Regions from separate parts of the Homo sapiens genome. Here regions 1, 2 and 3 are each linked to region 4. The links are contacts of gene promoters, found by promoter capture Hi-C in human tissues and cell types (Jung and others, 2019). All regions are on one chromosome and are shown on one strand. The core of a region is centred on a gene start or on the middle of the fragment in contact, and the rest is flanking DNA. Distances in the headings are between cores, read along the strand shown.

Evidence for each region. The method cuts DNA at HindIII sites, captures the fragments that hold promoters and counts their contacts. A contact is called where the count stands out against the background at its distance.
Region 1: a fragment that was not itself captured here is called in contact with the fragment with the promoter of RNF112 in region 4 in 2 of the 25 tissues and cell types used here (dorsolateral prefrontal cortex and thymus).
Region 2: a contact is called between a fragment that was not itself captured here and the fragment with the promoter of RNF112 in region 4, in 5 of the 25 tissues and cell types used here (dorsolateral prefrontal cortex, mesenchymal stem cells, ovary and 2 more).
Region 3: a fragment that was not itself captured here is called in contact with the fragment with the promoter of RNF112 in region 4 in 2 of the 25 tissues and cell types used here (dorsolateral prefrontal cortex and lymphoblastoid cells).

Annotation. Positions count from the first base shown.
Region 1 is chr17:19,855,604-19,858,413 of GRCh38, reverse strand. All of the region lies in intron 3 of ULK2 (unc-51 like autophagy activating kinase 2), which reads left to right. Among named protein-coding and RNA genes, the nearest start is that of TRG-CCC3-1, 3.9 kb to the left of the region's middle. The HindIII fragment of the contact is 7,474 bases long and covers 1-2,810 here.
Region 2 is chr17:19,766,863-19,769,722 of GRCh38, reverse strand. No RefSeq gene overlaps it. Among named protein-coding and RNA genes, the nearest start is that of ALDH3A1, 20 kb to the right of the region's middle. RefSeq lists an enhancer at 2,810-2,860. The HindIII fragment of the contact is 9,349 bases long and covers 1-2,860 here.
Region 3 is chr17:19,697,385-19,700,276 of GRCh38, reverse strand. The region is part of intron 13 of SLC47A2 (solute carrier family 47 member 2); the gene reads left to right. Among named protein-coding and RNA genes, the nearest start is that of SLC47A2, 18 kb to the left of the region's middle. The HindIII fragment of the contact is 3,572 bases long and covers 1-2,892 here.
Region 4 is chr17:19,409,620-19,412,534 of GRCh38, reverse strand. It overlaps RNF112 (ring finger protein 112), which reads right to left and starts at 1,303. Exons shown (of 14, transcript NM_007148.5): 1 at 1,073-1,303; 2 at 865-905; 3 at 1-37. The coding sequence starts at 1,126. The HindIII fragment of the contact is 25,812 bases long and covers 1-2,915 here.

The DNA of each region.
Region 1 (2,810 bases), core at 105-2,604, 450 kb before region 4:
TTTTTTTCTTTTTTGAGACAGGGTCTGGCTCTCTTGCCCAGGCTGGAGTGTGGTGGCATGACCACACCTCACTGCAGCCTCCACCCTTTGGGCTTAAGCCATCCTCCCACCTCAGCCTTCAAAGTATCTGGGACTACAGGCAGGCACCACCATGCCTGGCTAATTTTTCTATTTTTTGTAGAGATGGAGTTTCACCATGTTGCTCAGCCTGGTCTCAAACTTCTGAGCTTAAGCGACCTGCCCAGCTTGGCTTCCCAAAGTGCTGGGATTACAGGCGTGAGCCACCACACCCGGGCCAATAGTTACTATTTCCAAGTGTGCCAAGTGCTGTAAGGGAGAGCTCTTGGCGAGGTTTGAACAATATGGGGCCTAGGAAAATGGGACAAGGGAAGGCTTCCTGGGGAAATGATATCTGTAGAGACTGAGGGATGGGTGGGAGAAGGCTAGGTGGGGGTTAATGGGAGAAAATAAAGTAAGTTTCCCAAGGAGATGAAGGCTTCTGTAAAGACCACTGACAGGAGAGATCACTGAGTTTGAGGAACTGGAAGAAGGCTAGTGTGTCTGGAGTACAGTAATGAGAGCGAGAGCATAGTGTTAGATGATACTGGAGAGGTTAGCAGGAGCCAGATCTGATCTTTATCTTAAGGACAGTACAAAGCTATTGAAGAGTTTTAAAAGCAGGAGAGTGATACCGTTTTTGTTTTTCAAAAGATAAATCTCCTAGAGCACTCTGAGCATGAGATAAGTACTTTCACTTAGGAATACATAACTGTGTGATTGTCAGTGGCCTGGTTAAATATCTACCTCTTGGTAATTTTTAGTATCGCAAGAAAAAGATGATTAATTTAATAGGTGGTGCTCATAAAACTGAGACATCTGACAAAAAATAGAATTGGAACACCATTCTCATCATTTTCCAAAATCATTTCCAAATGAATTAAAAGCTTAAATATATAAAGTAAACAATAACAGTCTCAGAATAATATTTAAATGACTGTACAATCCAAGGGATGGAAAGACATTTTAAATCAAGATAAGAAACTCAGAAGCTGTAGTATCAGAAGCTCTAGTAGGGACATGTAAAACATTTTTTTTTTTTTTTTTTTGAGACAGAGTCTCACTCTGTCACCCAGGCTGGAGTGCAATGCCGTGATCTTGGCCCACTGCAACCTCCACCTCCCAGGTTCAAGCAATTCTCCCTGCCTCAGCCTCCTGAGTAGCTGGGATTACAGGCGCCCCGCCACCACACCTGGCTAATGTCTGTATTTTTGGTAGAGACGAGGTTTTGCCGTATTGGCCAGCCTGGTCTCGAACTCCCGACCTCAGGTGATCTGCCCGTCTTGGCCTCCCAAAGTGTTGGGATTACAGGTGTGAGCCACCGTGCCTGGCTATAAAAAATTTTAAAACTCTTTTTTTTTTTTTTTTTTTTTTTTTTTGGAGATGGAGTCTCGCTTTGTCACCAAGGCTGGAGTGCCGTGGTGCGATCTCGGCTCACTGCAAGCTCCACCTCCTGGGTTGACACTATTCTCCCACCTCAGCCTCCCGAGTAGCTGGGACTACAGGCGCCTACCACCATGCCTGGCTAATTTTGTTTTTGTATTTTTTAGTAGAGACGGGGTTTCACCGTGTTAGCCAGGATGGTCTCGATCTCCTGACCTTGTGATCTGCCCGCCTCGGCCACCCAAAGTGCTGGGATTCCAGGCGTGAGCCACTGCACCCGGCCGTAAAACTCGTTTTATAGCAAATAATACAATGAACAAATTGACATATATAAAAAGGAACAAACGATACATGTCATAACGTGAATTTCAAACTTTTTTTTTTTTGTGTGTGTGACGGAGTCTCGCTCTGTCGCCCAGGCTAGAGTGCAGTGGCGCGATCTCGGCTCACTGCAAGCTCTGCCTCCCAGGTTCCCCTCATTCTCCTGCCTTAGCCTCCTGAGTAGCTGGGACTACAGGCACCTGCCACCATACCCGGCTAATTTTTTGTATTTTTAGTAGAGATGGGGTTTCACTGTGTTAGCCAGGATGGTCTTGATCTCCTGACCTCGTGACCCGCCTGCCTCGGCCTCCCAAAGTGCTGGGATTACAGGCGTGAGCCACCGCGCCCGGCCTCAAACATTATTTTGAGAAAAATAAGCATGCCATATACTGCTACAGTATAATTCTGTTTTTGTGAATTTTGGGAAGAGTCAGAAGTAAGCTAGGGTGATAGAAATCAGAACAGAGGTTGACTCTTGGTCCCAGGGAGTGATAGGAAAGGGGCATGAGAGAACTTCTTGGGGTGATGGAATTGTTATGTATTTTGATTGGCAGGGTAGATACGTAGGTGTAAACATTTGTCACAACACATTGAACTGTACATTTATTTTTATTTTTAAATACTTATTTAGAAATGAGGTCTTACTCTGTTACTCAGGCTGGAGTGCATTTCTTCTGTGGTGCCATCATATCTCACTGCAGCCTCTAACTCCTGGGCTCAAGCGATCTTCCTGCCTTTGCCTCCTGAGTAGCTGTGATTACAGGCCTGTGCCACCATGCTCAGTGTATACCGTTATTAAAAAGAAAGAGCTATTTATATCTGGGTAAGAAAGAATGTTGGTATCAATGGAGACAGAGGCCTGGACAGATTAGTGAGATGTTTAGGAGATAGAATTGTTAGGACTTGGGCACTTGGACTGTAGGAGGTAAACAAGAGGGAATCAGAGTTGATAGCTCTTTGTCATGTTTTGAGATATTTTTCCCATTTTGTTTGGTATTTTTGTGGGGGGGTCTTACTTTAGACTTTTTTTCCTTTTTTTTTTTTTTTTT
Region 2 (2,860 bases), core at 212-2,711, 360 kb before region 4:
TGGTGCGATCTCAGTTCACTGCGACGTCCGCCTCCCAGGTTCAAGTGATTCTCCTGCCTCAGCCTCCCAAGTAGCTGGGATTACAGGTGCCCACCACTAGGCCTGGCTAATTTTTTGTGTGTTTTTAGTAGGGATGGGGTTTCAGCATGTTGGCCAGGCTGGTCTCAAACTTCTGGCCTTCAATGAACCACCGCCTCAGCCTCCCAAAGTGCTAGGATTACAGGAGACATTTAATTTTATATTCCATAATGCTGATATTTTTCACCATGAGCTTATATAATTAAAAAAAAATTTTTTTTTTTTTTTTGAGACAGAGTGTCACTCTGTTACCCAGGCTGCAGGCTGGAGTGCAGTGGCACGATCGCAGCTCACGCAACCTCTGCTTCATGGGTTCCAGCTATTCTCCCACCTAAGCCTCCCAACTAACTGGGATTACAGGTGTGTGCCACCACGGCTGGCTAACTTTGTGTGTGTGTGTGTGTGTGTGTGTATTTTTTTGAGATGGAGTCTCACTCTGTCGCCTTGGCTAGAGTGCAATGGCGTGATCTCGTCTCACTGCAACCTCTGCCTCCTGGGTTCAAGTGATTCTCCTGCCTCAGCCTCCTGAATAGCTGGAATTACAAGCACGTGCCACCATGCCCAGCTAATTTTTGTATTTTTAGTAGAGACGGTTTCACCATGTTGGCCAGGCTGGTCTCGAACTCCTGACCTCAGGTGATCCGCCCACAGCCTCCCAAAGTGCTGGGATTATAGGCATGAGCCACTGTGCCTGGCCTAATTATGTAATTTTTAAAAACAAGGTTTTTTTAAGTATAGGAAAACTAAAAGACTAGGAAAGATTTGCAGTAAATTCAACAGATGAAGGGAGGTTAAAGTAGGGGAAAATGTTAGGAGAAAATCCAGAAATTCTCTTTGCTCCTGACAGCCCCACTTCACCAATGGTGAGCAGCAGAGGGGCCTGAAAGGGTAGTGGGTTTGAGAGGCCCTGGTGTCCTGTGGGGCCCTGCCACATGCCCTGGTTGCCTCCTGTGTGCGCCGACACTGACCTGGGTGAGACGCCTCACTCCCTGGGCTTCCCTGTCCTTGTCAGTAAAGCAGAGACAGAAACACAACATGCCTCTTGGGTTTCCTGCAAGAGTTAAATGAGCTGCCGTGGAAAGTGCACATGGCAGTCCCTCCCTGAGGCTGGTGTGGCCAGCAGTGGGAGTAGCAGAGGGAGGCTGAAAGGACACGGGAGGCCTCAGGATCCACTCTGTTGTTTCTCCTCATTGGCCATCAGATGTGCTTCCTCTTTGTCACATCTGTATTTTGGAAACGTAAACCCTCCTTTCCATGGAACATGTGCTAAAATAACATTTCTTAGAAAAATTGGTCTCAAGAATATATCGTTCACTCAGTAACAAAGGAGTCAGCAGTGTGACAAATGTCAATTCAAAACGGACCTGAAAACTGAGGTCTGTTTTGGAAACAGGATGCTTATTACATAAGTAATTTGTGAAAAATAAGTTGCTTATTTTGGTAAAGGTCACAGTTTCCTTTTACGTCTATGGTCATAGAAACATTATATGGGTTGTTACGGAGGAAGTCTGGGGCAGGATGGTCCAAGATAACCAGGTGTGTAGACCAGGGGTTGACAAGCTTTTCCTGTACTGAAAAATACAAATATTTTAGGTTTTGAAGACTGTCTGGTCTCTGTCGCAACTGCAGGAGTCCCACCTTATTCATGAGGTTATGCTCCAAGACCCCCCAGTGGATGTCTGAAACCTTGGAAACTGCCAAACCATATATGTATGCTGTTTTTCTCTATACAATCACATAGTATAGGGTGGATCACATATGCGGCGTGGACATGACAGACAAAGGGAATGATTTGTGTCCCAAGTGGGATGGCAGAAGACTACATCACACTGCTCAGAATGGTGTGCAACTTAAAACTTAGGAATTGTTTATTTCTGGAATTTTCCATTGTTTTCTTTCTTTCTTTTTTTTTTTTTTTTTTTTGAGACAGAGTCTCTGTCGCCCAGGCTGGAGTGCAGTGGCATGATCTTGACTCACTGCAACCTCTGCCTCCTGGGTTCAAGTGATTCTCCTGCCTCAGCCTCCCCATTAGCTGGGATTACAGGCCTTGTGCCATCACGCCCAGCTAATTTTTACATTTTTTGTAGAGACGGGGTTTCGCCATGTTGGCCAGTCTGGTCTTGAACTCCTGACCTCCGGTGATCTGCCAGTCTCAGCCTCCTGAAGTGCTGGGATTACCGGCGTGAGCCACCGCATCCAGCCTTAAACAGAATTTAATGAACTGTTAGTTTACAGCATGCAAATTTTTCTCCATTGGTAGTTTTGGAACATACTTGTTTTTCTGCTGCTTTGAGAAATGAGGTGTTCTACTTTTAATCTTCCTGTGTGTTATTTGGACAAGTTACCTTCCCATCCTGAGCCTCAGTTTTTCCATCCATTAGAGAAGATAAGAGGACTACTACTTTCTAATCCTACCTGTGTGGGGAAAATGCTCTTTGCACAGTGCCTGGCATTTAGCAAGTGCTCAACAAATGGTGGCAGCAAGCAAAGTGAAGCTCTCCCTGCCATGCTGGGATCTGATGCCCCTGTTCCTAGCAACAGCTGCCTACAGTGCCGGGGAGCCAGGCCTTGGGCTGTTGCCCTGTCTCTCAGCAGGGCTATGTAAGCATATTGATTTTTGCAAAACCAAGTTCTGGTTCCTTGCTGTGGGGCTGACAAAAAACCATGGGGTCGATCCTCTATAAATATTTTAGCTATGTCCTCTGTTTTTTAAATACAAAATGTGTACTCTAGCCCTTGCCTGTCTGAATTGAAACAAACTCTTTTGAGGTCATGTGCCTCT
Region 3 (2,892 bases), core at 373-2,872, 290 kb before region 4:
TTTTGTAAACTTTTAGTGAGTTATAATTTACATATGATAAAATTCATATATAAGTATACAACTCAGTGATTTTAAATGAATTTGGAGTTATGTAACCATCACCACCATCTAGTTTTCCATCACCCCGCAGAATTTCCTGGAGACTGTTTTGTAGTTAATCCCTGCTCCCATCTCCTGCCCTGGGCAATCCACTGCATTGCTTTCTGTCTGTATGAACAATTTCATATAAGTAGGGTCTTATGATATGCAGTCCTGTGTCTGGCTGCTTCTCCTTAGCATACTGTTTTTGAGGTTCATCAATGCTGCAGCATGCGTCACTGCTTCATTCCTTTTATTACCGAGTAGTTCCATTGTATGGAAATACTGCCTTTGTTTATCCATTCATCAGTGGATGGACATTTGGGTTGTTTCTAGTTTTTGCTATCATCAATAATGCTGTTTAGAATGTTCACGTGGAAGTCTTTGTGTGGATTTGTTTTCATTTCTTTTAGTAGAGTTCTGGGAGTTGAACTGTTAAGTCAAATGATAACTTTATTTTTAGCTTTTTAAGAAACTGCCAGCCAGGTGCAGTAGAGCTCATGCCAGCATACCAGTGCTGGTAATCCCAGCACTTTGGGAGGCTGAGGTGGGAGGATCATTTCAACCAAGGAGTTTGAGACCAGCCTGGGCAACATAGGGAGACCCTATCTCTACAAAAGTTTTTAAAAATTAGCTGGGGGAGGGGGTCGGCGGGGAGGCGGGGTTGGCACACACCTATAGTCTTCGCTACTTGGGAGGCTGAGGCAGGAGGATTGCTTGAGCCCAACAGTCCAAGGCTATAGTCAGCTATGATTATACCACTGCACTCCAGCCTGGGCAACAGAGTGAGACCCCCATCTCTAAAAATAAAGTAAAATAAAAAATTTTAAAAAGTCACGGTGTAACCCAAATTCACCTAAATTTTCTATTATTTTGTAGGAGTTTTATACTTTTGCATGTTGCTTTTATGTCTGTGGTTTTAACTTTTGTAAAACAGGATATCTAAATTCATTATTTTGTATGTGGATGTCCAGTTGTTCCAGTACCATTTCTTGGAAAAAAAAAACTAGGCTTTCTCCAGTTGCCTTTGCTCCTTTGTCAAAATCAGTTGACTGTATTTGTATGGGTCTATTTCTGGGCTCTCTCTTCCATTCCAGTGATCTTTTTTGTCTATTCTTTCACCAATAGAATCATTCCTAGGTATCCTTGGGCAATTGGTTCCAGGACCCCGCAAGGTACCAAAATCCACAGATGCTCAAGTTCCTGATATAAAACGGCAGAGAATTTGCCTATAACCTATGCCCATCCTCCTATGAGTTTAAATCATCTCTAGATTACTTATAATTCCTAGTACAATGTAAAAGCTATGTAACAGTTGCTATGCTGTTTATTTTTTTATTGTTGTATTATTGTTTTTCAAATATTTTTGATCCATGGCTGGTTGCATCCACGGATGCAGAAGCTGTGGGTATGGAGGGCTGGCTATATACTTAACACTGCTGACCTGTACACTTAAAAACATTTAAGACAGCACATTTTATGTGTATTTTATCAAAATTAAAAGAATTTTTTTTAATCAACCCTGACATAAAGTATTGATACAAGGCTGGGTGCAGTGGCTCATGCTTGTAATCCCTGGACTTTGGGAGGCTGAGGCAAAGGAGGTCCTCACTTGAGGTCAGGAGTTCAAGACCAGCCTGGCCAACATGGCGAAACCTGTCTCTACAAAAAATACAAAAATTAGCCAAGCATGGTGGCACATGTCTGTAATCCCAGGTACTCCAGTGGCTGAGCATGAGAATTGCTTGAAGCCGGGAGGTGGAGGTTGCAGTAAGCCAATATTGCGCCACTGTACTCCAGCTTGGATGACAGAGCAAGACTCTGTCTCAAAAAAATAAATAATAAAAAAAGTACTGATACGAGAAGTAACTGAGCTAACATGTATGAAAGTGTCTGAAACACAGTAGCCATTTAATAGACATTAGGGTTGACTATAATGCAACAGACAAGACCTTGTGGACAACTTTACCATGCTGTCTTGATCACTGCAGCTTTATAGTAATTCTCGAAATTGGGTAGTATCACTCCTCCAACATCGCTTTTCTTTGTAAATGTTGCGTTTTGAGTCTTTTCCCTTTCTACATAAGCTTTAGAATCAGTTTGTCAATATCTACAAAACAAGCTGCTGGATGGCTTTTCCTTTCTTGTTGCAGCCATCCCAGTGGGGATATGCTACTATGTCACTGTGGTCTCAGTGTGCATTTCTCTAATGACGAGCCCCTTTTTGTGTGTTTATCATTCATTCATATGTAGCCTTCAGTGAAATTTCTATTTTAGTCTTTTGCCCATTTTAAAAATTAAGTAGGCTAGGTGTGATGACTCAAGTCTATAAAACCATCACTTTGGGAGGCTAAAGAAAGAGGTTGGCTTGAGCCCGGGAGGTCAAGACCAGCCTTGGTGACATGGCAAGATACCATCTCTACAAAACATTAAAAAAAAAAAAAAAAGCTGGGCATAGTGGTGCATATCTGTAGTCCCAGCTACTAGGGAGGCTGAGGTGGGAGGATAGCTTGTGCCCAGAAGTTCAAGGCTGCAGTGAGCTATGACTGCATCACTGCACTCTGGGCTGGGTGACAGAGCAAGGCCCTGTCTCAATCTACAAAATAAATAAAACAAATTTTAAAAATATGAAAATATAATATTTGGTAGCTGGTTGTATTTGCTTGCTAAGTGCTTTGGTTTGAATGTGTCCTCCGAAGTTCATATGTTTATGTAACAGTGTTGAGAGATAGAACTTTTTTTGGTTGTCTTTTTGTTTTTTTGAGACAAAGTCTCATGATGTCACCCAGGCTGGTCTTGAACTCCTGGCCTCAA
Region 4 (2,915 bases), core at 54-2,553:
CAGGCCTAGCTCCAACTTGGGGAAAGGTGTATGGGACCTGTGGGGCAAAACAGGCCATTGAAAAGCAGGATGTCTATTGGGGGCAGGGGGTACCGGCCAGGGTTGTGGTGGAAGACTGATGGCTTGGGAGTGGAGGTCCCTTTGTGCCAACCCAATTTCCATCAGTGCCTCCATGGACAGGCGGAGCTGCTCCCAGAGAGGCCAAGCTCTGCCCGTTCCTCACTGACATGTGTCCTAGGACCTGGGGGCCTCAGAGTGGGGGCAGCAGAGCAATGGTGAGAGAGTCTGAGAGGGAGAAAATCTGAGTGGAATGGACTCCACCACATCCCAGCCATGCAAATGCAAGCAAGTTCCTTCCCCTCTCTGGGCCTCAATTTCCTAACTGTCCCAATGGAGAGGATAGCAATACCCCTCATGGGGCCGTTGGGGTGGCCATCCGAGAGGAGGCGTGTGCAGCTGTCTGCACAGTGCCTGGTGCAAATGCTTGGGAAGAGCCTCTCCCGGCGTTCTACAGCGGGGCTCCCTCCATGAGGTGCTGACTTCAGCCAGGCCCCCAGGGATGATACCCTCCACAACCCCATGCTACAGGGACAGTGAGGAGAAGCCATCAGCCTGTGCTGCAGTTGGGCAGATGGCTCTGGATCTTAGAAGATTCCTTCCGCTCTCTGCTCTGAGCTGGCATCTGCCTCCCTGCAGCACCCACCTGCTTCTTCCTGTCCCTCCCTCCACAGCCTGGCGGATCCAGCCTCAGGCGGACAGCCCTCCCGGCTGGGCTGCCGGGCTCTGTGTTCCAGGACCGGCCATTTCAACTGACCTGCCTGGCCTCACTGCACCCATCCCAGCCTGGAAGGCCCTGCTACTTACCAACTGTTGCCGCTGTTTCCCATGAAGCTCTGTTTTCTCTCCTTGGAGAAAAAAAAAAAAAAAAAAGATTTAGAACATAATCCAGACTTCTATCTTCACCCTGGATTTCCAGGGACCCCTCATCCTCCCCACCCCCGGCCCATCCCCCAGCCCAAGGAGGGCCCTTCCCACCCCACTCTCCTTCCCGATCTTAGGACTGAAGACTTGCCCGTTTGCCAAGCCGATGACAAAAGGAAGTGACTGACAAGGCGGGCCTTGGCATGGGAGGCTGGGATGGGGAGAGGGTCCGGATGCAGAGGGGGAGGCCCCGAGACCTTCAACCAGAGGTAAGGATGCCTTTTCTCCCGGAAAGGCTAGCAGGCTGCGGTAGGTAGAAGGTGAGGTCGGGGGATGGTATCCCCGAGGAGCTGACTCCCGGTCAGAGCTGGAAAAGAAATGTGACAGTCAGGAAAGAGGAGGCTGCTGCTGGACTCACCCCAGGGGGAGGAGACACGGCTGCGGGTAGCAGGGCTCCGAGGAGGGAGGGATGGAGCCCGGCTCAGAATCCCTGGCAGAGGCTGGGATGCAGGCAAGCCGAGGTGGTGAGTCGCCATGGAGACAGAAGGGAAAGATAAGGACAGGGAGGGGGAGGGGGACAGAGAGGGAGAAGGCGTGCGGTGCACCCGCAAACATGGAGGCGCCTCCGGCAGAACCATGGGCCAGCACTGCCTCTACTGGGCCAGCTGAGGTCTCCCCAGGGCCACAGGACAGGGTGGGCAAAGAGAAGAGGTGTGAGAAACAGGAGAGGGTAAGACCAGAGCTGACCCAGAGACAAGGAGTTATTCATCCATTCATCCAATGAACAGTTACTGAGTACCTACTATGTACAGAGCCCCCAAATGCAGACCCTACTTCACATGGCCCTGCACATCCTCCTGCTCTCTCTCAGGTTTATGTCATCGACGCCCAACCCAGCTGCAGCCTTCTTCAGCACTCATGGGCCCTCCGTGTCCTCTGGTGTATTTCCCTCCCAATAGCTTTCACTCTGCCTCAAACTTGAGCAGGATGAAATCTATCAAAACTATGAGCCACCTCTGGACCTTCTAATGGCCTCTTGACTGGGCTCCTTGCCTCCCTTCCACTCCCCAGTGCACAGCCAGCATAGGCTCCCCAAGCACAGATGACCTCACACTGCGCAAACACCTTTTGTGTCTCCCTACTACCATCAGATCAAAATCCAAACTCTCCGGCCTGCGGACTGGGCTGAACCTTCCTTCCACCCTTCTCTCGCCCCACTCTTCCCTGCCTCTGCACCCTGGCTTGGCTGCTCTGCTCCTTCTCATCCCTCCTGGGACACCCTCTTAGGCCCAGTGCAGGTGCTGTGGCCTCCCTAGAGCCTCCTTTCCTCACCCCTCCCAACTGGGTGCGGTCTTGTTCTTGGACAGTTGAGGGCTGGGATATGTGATAGGCTTGGCGCAGCCCAGGCTTCAGAGCCAGGCAGATCTGGGCTTGATTCTCGGCTCAGGGGCTCTGGGACTCCACTGCACCTCTCTGTGCTCTGAGGAGCCACCATTACCTATGTAAAGCCACTAGTCCAGGCACGGGAGTCATTCGTACATCCTATGAGCTAGGATGCAGAAGGGTTGGGGTGAGGTGGGATTCAGAACCTAGAAAAGTTCAGCAGAGACCACCTTCAGCAGGTGGAGACACCCCTGAAGCTGGGGCTGGATCTTGTTCATTTTGGTGTCTGGAGGGCCTGAGATTGTGGGGCTGAATCAATCAGATTCAGAGAAGCAGTGCCATAGACTCTGCCTCCTCCTGCCCCAGGTGGGACAAGCCCCTGTGTGTTGGCAGCAAAGCCTCACACTCAGGGGATGAGGAAGCAAGCCTGAGCCGTGCCACAGCTCTGCCTTCAGGGCAGAAGGGAGGGTTTTCTCAACCCCTGTAGCCTTTCATCCTTGCAGGAGAGAAAGCGTGGGCGCTGGACTCAGATTCAAGCTCTAAACCTGCCTCCATCCCAGCATGAAATGCTGGTGAGTCACTGCCCTCTCTGAGCTTCCATTTGCTCATCA